Regions from separate parts of the Homo sapiens genome. Here regions 1 and 2 are each linked to region 3. Evidence: promoter capture Hi-C in human tissues and cell types (Jung and others, 2019). All regions are on one chromosome and are shown on one strand. Each heading gives the region's core, a stretch centred on a gene start or on the middle of the fragment in contact. The rest is flanking DNA. Distances are from core to core; before and after follow the strand shown.

Region 1 (3,527 bases), core at 177-2,676, 150 kb after region 3:
GCTGGAAATGGAGTTAATAATCAATGACACGTATGTGATGAAGCTGCCATAAAAATCCCTGAACTGCAGGGTGTGGAGAGCTTCTGGGTTGTTGGACATGGGGGAGTGCCTGGAGGGAGGGAAGGTTCCCTCTGTGCCCCATCCTCATGCTCTACCCTGTGCATCTCTCCATCTGGTGCTCATCTGTATCCTTTACAATATCCTTGATATTAGTAGTAAACTGGTAAATGTAAGTAAACTGTTCCCCGGAGTTCCATGAGATGCTTTAGCAAATGAATCAAACCTGAGGCGGAAGTCATGGGAACTCCTGATTTATAGCTGATTCATTGGAAGTTCTGGAGGTCCAGCCTTGCAATTGGCATCATACAGGCAGTTTTGTGGGACTGGGCCCTTAACTTGTGGATGGCAACTCCCAGTAGATACTGTCAGAATTGATGTGTGGGGAAAAACCCGGACATCTGGTCACAGAAGTGTTCTGTGCTGTGCTGAGAGCATAGGAGGGGAAATCAGTTTGCTTGTGTTTTCCTGCCACGTAACAGAGCCTCTTCTGGGAGAACCTAGGATTCTCTTCTTTCAAGCCTGATGGACACAAAGGACTTCATCTCCCTGGGTCCTTCCTTCTACACAGGATTTTCTTTTTAAGGCTTTTAAGCACAATCACCATGGAAAAAAAGGACAGAAGGTTACTGTTGGGTTCCCCCAAAATATATGTTGAAGTCCTAACCCCCAGCACTTCAGAGGTGACCCTGTTTGGAGACAGGGCTGTTACAGATGTAATTACTTGAGGTCCTGCTGGGGTAGGTGGGCCACTGGTCCGATGTGCCTGGTGTCCTTACAAGAAGAGAAGAGACATATGCACATGGCTGTGGAGATGCAGGCAGAGGCTGGAGCGCTGCAGCTGTGAGCTAGGGAACACCAGGGATCCACGTCCACCCCAGGAGCTGGGAGAGTCAAGGAAGCGTTCTCCCTTACAGATTTCAGAGGCGGCATGGCCCTGCTGACACCTTGGTACCAGACTTCTGGCCTCTAGAACCATGGGAGAATAAATTTCTGTTGGTTTCAGCCACCCAGTTTGCGGTCCTTTGTCACCACAGCCCTAGAAGCCAACACAACTATGGCAGGGGGTTCCAGAATCTAGTAGTAATTCTGTGATGTGCTTCACGGCAAGGTGGGGAGCATCTTTGCTGATCGGCTTCTCACTGAAATCTCCAGGCCCTCATAGTCTCACTCCTGTATTCCTAGGGACAAAGCATGCTATAGTCTGAATTTTGGTGTCCCTTGCCAAATTCATATGTTGGAAACTGATGCCCAATGTGATAGTATTAAGAGGTGGGGCCTCTGGGAAGTGATTAAGTCACAAGGACCCCACCCTCGTGAATGGGATTAGCGCCCTTATAAAGAGACTTGAGTGAGCTTCCTCGCCCTTGCTGCCATGTGAGAAGGCAGCAACAGGACACCATCTATGAAACCTCACAAGACCCTTAATCTGCTGGCATCTTGACCTTGGACTTTTGAGCCTTCTGAACTGCGAGCAATACATTTCTGTTGTTTATGAATTGGTCAGTTTAAGGTATTTTGTTACAGCAGCTCAAACGGATTAAGACAGAGCCCAACCAAACACCCGCTCCTTGGATCGCTCCCCTCCTTCCTTTTGTTGCCTCTCCCCTCATTAAGGAACGGGAAGGGAGAGATGAGGGATAAACAAGCGTGGTGACGGATTGGTCCTAGACTGATGCGGATGACGTATGCATCAGAGATTTCCTGGGCCTTGCTCTGACTTTGGTCTTCCAGCAGTGCGCAGGCCTGCTCTGCCCCGCTCTGCCCCGCTCTGCTGGCCTCAGCCTTCCTCATTCATCATTGTTCACCTCACTCCCATCCACCTTCTTCCCTTTTTCCCAAACCTATCCTGATGAGAAGTTTGAATTCTGTTTTAAGGAAAGACCTTCCAATGCAGTGTGGAGTGAGGGCCATTCCCACATACATACACACTCCATACTCTTTTGAAGCGATTTTGTGAATTACAAAACCACCATAATTTTCAGGAGTAGTGGCATGTCTTAGTAGGAAATGTTGAATGGAATCACAAAAAGCTTGAGAATAAGAAAAATAAAAAGATAGGATGTGCTGACATTTTTGAAAGCCCTAAAATAATTTGGTGCCCATAGTGGGAACCTTGTCATACTTATTTACATAGTATGGAAGGCTATTTGACAAAAAAATCAAATGAGGTATAGGAATAGTAACTCATTATAAATTGGGGACAATAAAGCCAAATTCCACTGGATTTTAAAGTTATACAAATGATTCTCTAGTCCCTAAATTAGGGATATAAAAGTCCGTAGGCAGCTTTGGGGCTGAAAGGGGTTCTGTAAGCATCTTGCTGTATAATGGAGCAAGTCCTGACCCAGAAAAGAATCTGTACTTTGTCCCAGATGGGCTATAACTTGCTCTGTGACTGCCATCATGTGTGTTCTGGCAGAGATTCATAGGCAGGCAGAGGAGTGGGGAAGCTTCATAGCAGAAAAGGGAAGGTGTCAGGTGTGTGCTGACTGGAGGCTGCTGGCCGGGGAAGCTGGAACGAAGTGGGCTATCCAGAGGTGGTGTATCCATCCTCTGTAGTTGGTTAGGGCACTTAGTTCACTCTCTCCAGTTGGGGTTGATTGTAGAGTTCTAACTTTTTACGTGGTCTGGCCATTGTCCATGTGTATATTCAGTCTCTCCCAAGCTAGTCATCTGGTAAGTGACCAATAAGCTTTAGTTACTCAATACAAAGAAACCAAACCAGCATTAGATGGGGAGGAGAGTTCCATCTAGAGATCTAACACTGTGATAGTGGAAGCAGTCCCAAAGAATGATAGCCTATGATACCATGCTTGGGGGTGTGGCCTTCCGGTCTCATCAGAAAAAGTACAGAGCTCAGAGCAGAATCACATGGAAGCAGCTCTCCCCTAGACTCTCCTAGATGTTAGGTCTCTGAGATCATAGTAATGCAGTCAGCAATGAAACCTACCTGGTTAATTAGAGAAACACAGCTCCATCAATGTAAGAGAGAAGTCTGGTAAGCCTTCTTATGGAAAATTCTTTACCTATTTTCCCTTCAAATATTGTTTCTGCTCCATTCTCTCAACTTTCTCTCAACTGGAATCTTTCCATAAATAAGTTGGAGCTTTTCATTCTTTTCTCCATTTCTTTTCACTTTTTGTCTATATTTTCTATCTCTTTAGTTCTCTGGGTCAAAGTCTATTTTGTGTTCTCAGATGTAGTTTCGGCTCACTAGTTTTCCCTTCTGTTGCGTTTGGCTTACAGTCTAACTTGTCTGTGGCATTTTATTTTAATGGCTGAATTTGTACTTATGGTGTTTTTTCAGTCAATCTCCTTGTTCTTTTTAAATGTGATTTTGCATTCTTATATTACACATTAAATACTTCCTTTATATGTTCAAACTTTGAAAACAGACCCACTTAAAATATTTTTCACATTCCCTTATTTTTCTGTTCCTGGGAGTGAGTTACCCCCAACTCTTAGCT
Region 2 (3,429 bases), core at 159-2,658, 130 kb after region 3:
TCAAAACTGCTTCAGGCACACAGTAGAACACCACAGTAGTGCCCCATGTAGATGGACAAAATCTTTTAGGTGATGAGAGGGAATATTCATCATCTGAAACTCAGAGCAAGAAAATCAAATCCATGATGTGGAAAAACTTCACTGGAGACATGTTCCACATAGGGAAGCAATGCTACTTAAAAGAATAATAAGGCATGGCTAGAATAAATTTGGGGAATCTGGGATAGAGGTCTGAGACTCCTCCTACCCCTCAGCAGGGCTATTTAAATGGTTAAATGGAAAACAATCAGAAGAAACAGGACAGGAAGGGTGGACTCCCCATACTGCTGGCTTGGTAAGTCTTTTAGCTACTTGTGACTCAGAATGTGGCTGAGGACTATTAGCATGGGCTTGGGAACAGCATCACCTGGGAGCTGGTTAGAAATACAGAATTTTGGGCCCACCCAGATCTGCTGGATCAGAATCTGAATTTTAGCAAGATCCCCAGGAGATTTATATGCAACTTAGCATTTGGGAAGCAGTGCTTTAATTTCACAGAGCCTCGGTTTCTTCATCCATTGTAAATTATGGATAATGAAATCTACTTTAAAAGGCTCTCGTGATCCTAAATGAAATATAACAAATGAGGATGCCCAGTAAAGTGACTAGCACACAGTAATCAGTGGTGAACGTGTTTTGGAAGATCCCATATAGTTGGGTAAGTATGACTGCAACCCACTGGGACTTTAGTTCTGCTTTTGATGCAGGACAGGCAAGCACCAAAATTGGGGCTTAGCCTGGGAGGGTTCTTGGCTTTGCCCAGGAAAGAATTCAAGGGCAAGCTGGTGTTGTTAAATAGCCATTTTTATTGAAGCTGCAATGTATAGCAGCAGCACCTCTGTTCCTTGTGGAGCAGGGATATTCCATAGGCAGTGTGCCTGGAATAGCAGCTCAGAGGAGTCTGTTCTGTACTCATATTTATTTTTAATTATATGCAAATTAATTTAAATTATAAATTTGATTATATGCAACCCACGTTTAATTATATGCAAATTAAGGGGTGGCTTATGCAGAAATTTCTAGGAAAAGGGTGGTAACTTCTGGGTTGTAGAGTCATTGCCATTAAAAGGGGCTGGAGATTGCCATGTTGCCATGGCAATAGTAAACCGACATGGTGCACTGGTGGTCATGTCTTATGGAAAGCTGCTCCTGCCTGGGACCTGTTTTAGCTAGTCCTCAGTTTGGTCTGGTGTCCAAGCCCCGCCTCCAGAGTCAAGTCCCTCCTCCTAGCTCACTTTGATCTAGTTCCATCACAACACATAAAAGTAGGGTGCTGGCTCTTAAGAGCTAATGATCAGACTTACAGAAAATTTGCAAGCTAATTGTTAGCATAACCATTATTAAAAATTAAATTATATACATTTACAACTAAATTATATTGAAAGCAAGTGTAATATGCAAAACATCACTTTCCAATGATTTTACTATATTTGGCCATCTGTGCTTGTGAGGTTATTTACATCTACTGTATCTGCATGGTGGAAATGCTGTGTAATGGTGCACACTTCTAGCCAACTCTATGTCCTGTGATGTCATTTTTGTAGGCTGAAGTGAACCACAGTGGGTATATTTACACCAGAGCAATCAATAAACACTACAAACTGGGGCTTTCCCTCCCAGAGAACTAGTTGTTAAGCATTCACAAGCATGACACAGTAAATATAGCACTTATGGCCACATGCAGTGGCTCATGCCTATAATCCCAGCACTTTGGGAGGTCAAGGAGGGCAGATCACCTAAGGTCAGTAGTTCGAGATCAACCTGGCCAACATGGTGAAACCCTGTCTCTACTAAAAATACAAAAATTAGCTGGGCATGGTGGTAGGCGCCTGTAATCCCAGCTACTCAGGAGGCTGAGGCAGGAGAATTGCTTGAACCCAGGAGGCAGAGGCTGCAGTGAGCCAAGATTGCACCACTGCACTCTAGCCTGGGCGATAGAGTGAGACTCTGTCTCAAAAAATAAAAAAAATAAAAAATATAGTACTTATAATTGCTGCTTGTTAAAATTAAAAAAACCCTGGGATTGGTGAGGAATTGCTTTTTTGTCTCAGGTGACACTCAAAATCATTGATGAGGAAGTTATGGGTTATACTTGGGTCCACTCTTAGTCTTATTTACAATCTTTTCATAATGCCTTACTGTTTTTTTAAAAAATTATTCATGGAAGACAATGTGTTTTATTTAAAGTTGGCTTAATCTGTGAATACAATGGGGATCCATGACATTCTTGTCCTATTGTATAAAATCTGGAAATTGTAGGCATTAACTATACAAAAAACAAATTGCTTTCTCATTTCTTTAGGCTAGGCTTCTCACTCCTGCATGCAGGCACAGAACAGAAGAAGGGCAATGACCGGCCAAGCTTCAGATGGTGTAAGAAAAAGAAGTCGAGGCATGGAGACAGCCTTTGGGGGAAGAATAATGAGTACTTACCTTGACAGAGGGGATTTCAACAATAGGAACAAAATAATGAGATCATCTAAGAAGGTGGATAATTGACCAGGGCTTATAACACAGGAATGCACTGTCAGTAGGGATTTATGACCAATCTCCTACTTGTTGAGTGGGATGTGAATAATTAACTAATTTCTTAACCCACTGAGCAAGGGTTAAAGATTGAGTCACCTGTTTACTCACAGCCTGTCAGGGAGTGAGTGTTAGCACCTCTACCTGGTGGCGGAGGAGGGAGTGCAGAGAGAGTGAATGCCTGCAGGGCCAGAGCTGCCCAGGGGTGCAAGGTGGACTCCGGACCTCCCCTTGTTAATGTGTCTCTCCTGATTTAATGCGTCATCTTTAAAGAATCATCCTCAATTCTGCAGCAATAAAAATAAAAACCTTCCCTTTCACCTTGCAAGCCTCCCGCAGAAAGCCCCAGGAAGAGCCTTGTCAGGGCAGCTGAGGAGACAATTAATAACCATGGGTGATGGATGAGGTGCACGTGGCCTGTGCCTCCACTTTTATCCCTCTTCCCTTCTGCTGCCAGTTGGGCCCCAGGCCCCTGTGAAGTGCATATGCCTTGGGGGTGTGATATATTAAGCCATCATTATTCATCCTTAACACATTTGCAAGTTTTAATTCAGCCTAAAATAATATAATCAGAGAAAATGTTCTACTTGCATTTAACATTATACTCACAGGTTTGGATTATATCATAGATGTAGTTGGGGATGGCATGGGAGGGCAACAAGCATAAAATGCATTGACTTTACCATGTATTTCAGTTATATATTTATATTTTACATGTAAATTCATAATTATATATTTATATCTAGATAAAATTATATGTTTGTGTATTATATATAATAATCTATAGTTATGTATCACTATCTCACTAGGTGATTGCTGATTAAGGGGAATACTATTACCCACAATGTTGAACACAGTGCCTGG
Region 3 (3,477 bases), core at 217-2,716:
TAGCTTATTCACAAAGAAAACAAAATCTTTCATTGCATGAAAATCTTGTTCAAGTGAAAGCCAAATTTTACCCTTACATTAGTCTATTAATGTCAACCCCAATTAAAAAAAATAAAACCTTACAGAGAAATCCATCCAATCTTAATCAGTTTGATCATGAACTGAGATTGTTATAAATCTTTTATAACCTTTTACAAATTTTTTTTGTTAAACAGCATGTAAGTGCTTCAAGAAAACCTTGTTGTGCTTGTATTCCATTGTTCAACTTATGGAAAACCAAATAATATCCTTTTTAGTGTAGTCAATATGTTTACACACAGGATTCCTTTTACAAGATTAATTTTTTACAAACCTTCCATAACTTGTTTGAACCTTAAGCTTTATCTTATATAATTTAAAACAATCATTTAACCCTCTGAACTAGGCAAAAATTTACATTCCCATGCCTTCTTATATTATTTTACTAATGATACATTTTACTCTCCTTACTCACCTCACGTGTAGATCTGTTTTCAGTAGTCATCACTACATGTTATAATGGTAGCTCTTAGTAATTGTTAATTTTGGTGAAATACCCAGTAAGTTATTTTAGTTACGTACTTAGGTGCAGATGAGGTCTAACTATTTCCAGCATAGCTAGGGCAGGCCCTACCAAACTGCAAAGCAGGAAAGTTGAACAATTTTCAAAAGCCAAAGCAGTTTATGACCTTAAAGCATTTAGTCAACCTAGTTTCTGACTTGCATAATTTAGACCATGTCTATATTTTGAAGACATTTCTATTTTCATTTTACTGATAATTTAAAAGACAGCCTATTTAGCAAAGTCATACTTAAGTGAATTTGAAAATTGCTTAGACTTATTTACTTAATTTATGAACACTCTTTTACTTATAAGCCAATTTGGTAGACACAACATATAACAGTAAGTGTACATACAAGTAAACACATCTAGACATGTATACACACACACAAATGAAGAGGTGGAGCTTAAAACACCCAAATTGGGTGCAGTGTATACTGCTTGGGAGATGGATGCACCAAAATCTCACAAATCACCACTAAAGAACCTGCTCATGTAACCAAATAATACCTGTTCCCTCAAAACCTATGGGAAAAAAAAACTAAAAAAAATACTTAAATGGTATCACAGAACTAATTAGCCGAATACAGTATCTAGTACCTGGCTGTCACCCAATACTTGCCTCATACCATCACATCTAGAAAACAAGTAGATATTCTTTTTGGAAGAGCCCTGAGGGAGCTACTAGGAGGTTTGCACGGCCTGCTCTCCTGCCCTCTTCTTGCTCTGTGGCTGAACTTCAATTCTCTTCGGGCTTAGACCCCACTGACTCGCTCCCGGGCAAAGCAAACGATTTGATCAGATGGCCACGTGCATTCTTCCTTTTCCTGAAACCAGCACCATAGGGTAAAAGATTATTTCTACTTGGTTGCCTTCCAGATGTTTCACACTTGGACAGCAAACTGATTTCAAACCACTCCTTTTCAAAGATCTCTGAGGGAGACATTGCACCTGGCCACTGCAGCCCAGAGCAGGTCTGGCCACGGCCATGAGCATGCTGAGCCATCATGCCCACCGTGGATGACATTCTGGAGCAGGTTGGGGAGTCTGGCTGGTTCCAGAAGCAAGCCTTCCTCATCTTATGCCTGCTGTCGGCTGCCTTTGCGCCCATCTGTGTGGGCATCGTCTTCCTGGGTTTCACACCTGACCACCACTGCCAGAGTCCTGGGGTGGCTGAGCTGAGCCAGCGCTGTGGCTGGAGCCCTGCGGAGGAGCTGAACTATACAGTGCCAGGCCTGGGGCCCGCGGGCGAGGCCTTCCTTGGCCAGTGCAGGCGCTATGAAGTGGACTGGAACCAGAGCGCCCTCAGCTGTGTAGACCCCCTGGCTAGCCTGGCCACCAACAGGAGCCACCTGCCGCTGGGTCCCTGCCAGGATGGCTGGGTGTATGACACGCCCGGCTCTTCCATCGTCACTGAGGTAAAAAAGCCTCTGTAACATGGGAGTTCCTGGGACAGGGAGAAATATAAAGCAAATCCTATGAAGTTCAGTTCCATATCAGGAAAGAGGTAGGGGGCTATGTTTATTGTGCAGTTCGTGGGTGTCTGGCTGTGTCCCAGGCACGGGGCATTCTCTTCTCTAGTTTAATCCACCACAAACTCTGGGTCTTTGAGGAGGAAGCTGAGGCAGGAGAGAACAGCTAGCACAAGTCGGGGGCCAGGTTGCCAGGTTGCTTGAATGGGAGTTGACTGGGAGACCAGGAGCCTCTCTGCCTGCCCCACTGGCTTCTCCCAGAACTATCAACTTGCTCTGGGTCCCGCTTCCCCACCAATAGTACTGTGGGCCCCCTCCTTCTGCTCAAGAGTGATGACGATTGACCTCAATGATGGTGTTGAGGTGGCCTGGAATTGCCCTGGCTTGGAAGTGAGAATATTTGGTGGAATCCCAGCTGTGCCCCTTATTAGCTGAGCATCACTGGGTAAGTCACTGCCTCTCTAAGCCTCATTTCCTCATCAGTCAACCAGGGATGATGACGGCTGCCTCATAGGGGTGTGAGCTTCAGCTGGGATCTGTGAAAGCACTGAGCAAATCCAAACTGAGTCACACCGTGCAGTCCGATGGGGCCCATGGGATAGGGCGATGGCCTCAAAAGGGCCTTGCTTGAGTAGTTTACTTGGTTATTTGAGCATTTTGCTTTGAGAATCCTTTAGTAAAAAGTGTCACCACATTTTTTTCCCATCATGAGCCCTTTTGAAACTATTGCACGGTAACAAGTGTGGATGCTTGGTGGGTTGGAGAAGCTGTGGGCCAAAGCCCGTCAGGGGCCTTCTGTTAGTAACGAGCAGTGGCGTGGTTTTGGTGCAGGCACTGCTTCCCTGAAATAAGAGGTAACTGGGCCCTCCCTGCCTCTGGTCCTGCCCACTTGTCTGCCCCCACTACCCTCGCCCAAGCTCTCCGGACTTCTTGGGTCTCTGTTCTTCCTCTTTTCCCTTTCCTGAGTGGTATCAGCGGTGACACATTTAGGGCTATTACTGGAGGAAAGCTTAGGGTCCCTCCCCTCTGGGCCTGAGCATTGCTCTACCTGCTTGCCTGGAGCAGAGCAGGTGCCGGTGCAACTGGCTTTACGATGCTGAAGAGACATCTTGTCTCCAAGGCATCCTCCAACAATGGATGACAAGTTAGGCAGCCCACCTTCCAGGGATCTCCAACCATCTGACATTCCCACTGGGAATCTAGAAGCAGACCAGGATGAGGATGTGTTTGCTCTCTGGGACTGAGACATACTCTGCTTTGAGGAGATCAGATGTGATCATTCCTCCAGTCAGACATCCACCCAGTATGTTCGGCATACTCCCTCTATTCTGGCACTGGGTGTGATGCCGCAGGGGAGATGCAGAAGAAGATTGTGAGGTCCCTCAAGGAGTCTGCAGTCTTGTGGGGACTGAGAGGGGAAGAGGA

The links. Contacts are between HindIII fragments. The study calls those that stand out against the background at their distance.
Region 1: a contact is called between a fragment that was not itself captured here and the fragment with the promoter of SLC22A1 in region 3, in 1 of the 25 tissues and cell types used here (liver).
Region 2: a contact is called between a fragment that was not itself captured here and the fragment with the promoter of SLC22A1 in region 3, in 1 of the 25 tissues and cell types used here (liver).

The regions. Positions count from the first base shown.
Region 1 is chr6:160,269,656-160,273,182 of GRCh38, forward strand. LOC105378088 (a long non-coding RNA gene) reads left to right here and starts at 2,924. Exons shown (of 2, transcript XR_001744437.2): 1 at 2,924-3,058. The HindIII fragment of the contact is 6,937 bases long and covers 1-3,527 here.
Region 2 is chr6:160,252,285-160,255,713 of GRCh38, forward strand. The region is part of intron 2 of SLC22A2 (solute carrier family 22 member 2); the gene reads right to left. Among named protein-coding and RNA genes, the nearest start is that of SLC22A2, 4.8 kb to the right of the region's middle. The HindIII fragment of the contact is 3,650 bases long and covers 1-3,233 here.
Region 3 is chr6:160,120,349-160,123,825 of GRCh38, forward strand. SLC22A1 (solute carrier family 22 member 1) reads left to right here and starts at 1,467. Exons shown (of 11, transcript NM_003057.3): 1 at 1,467-1,998. The coding sequence starts at 1,588. It overlaps LOC124901452 (a long non-coding RNA gene), which reads right to left and starts at 1,347. Exons shown (of 2, transcript XR_007059842.1): 1 at 494-1,347. The HindIII fragment of the contact is 5,449 bases long and covers 1-3,477 here.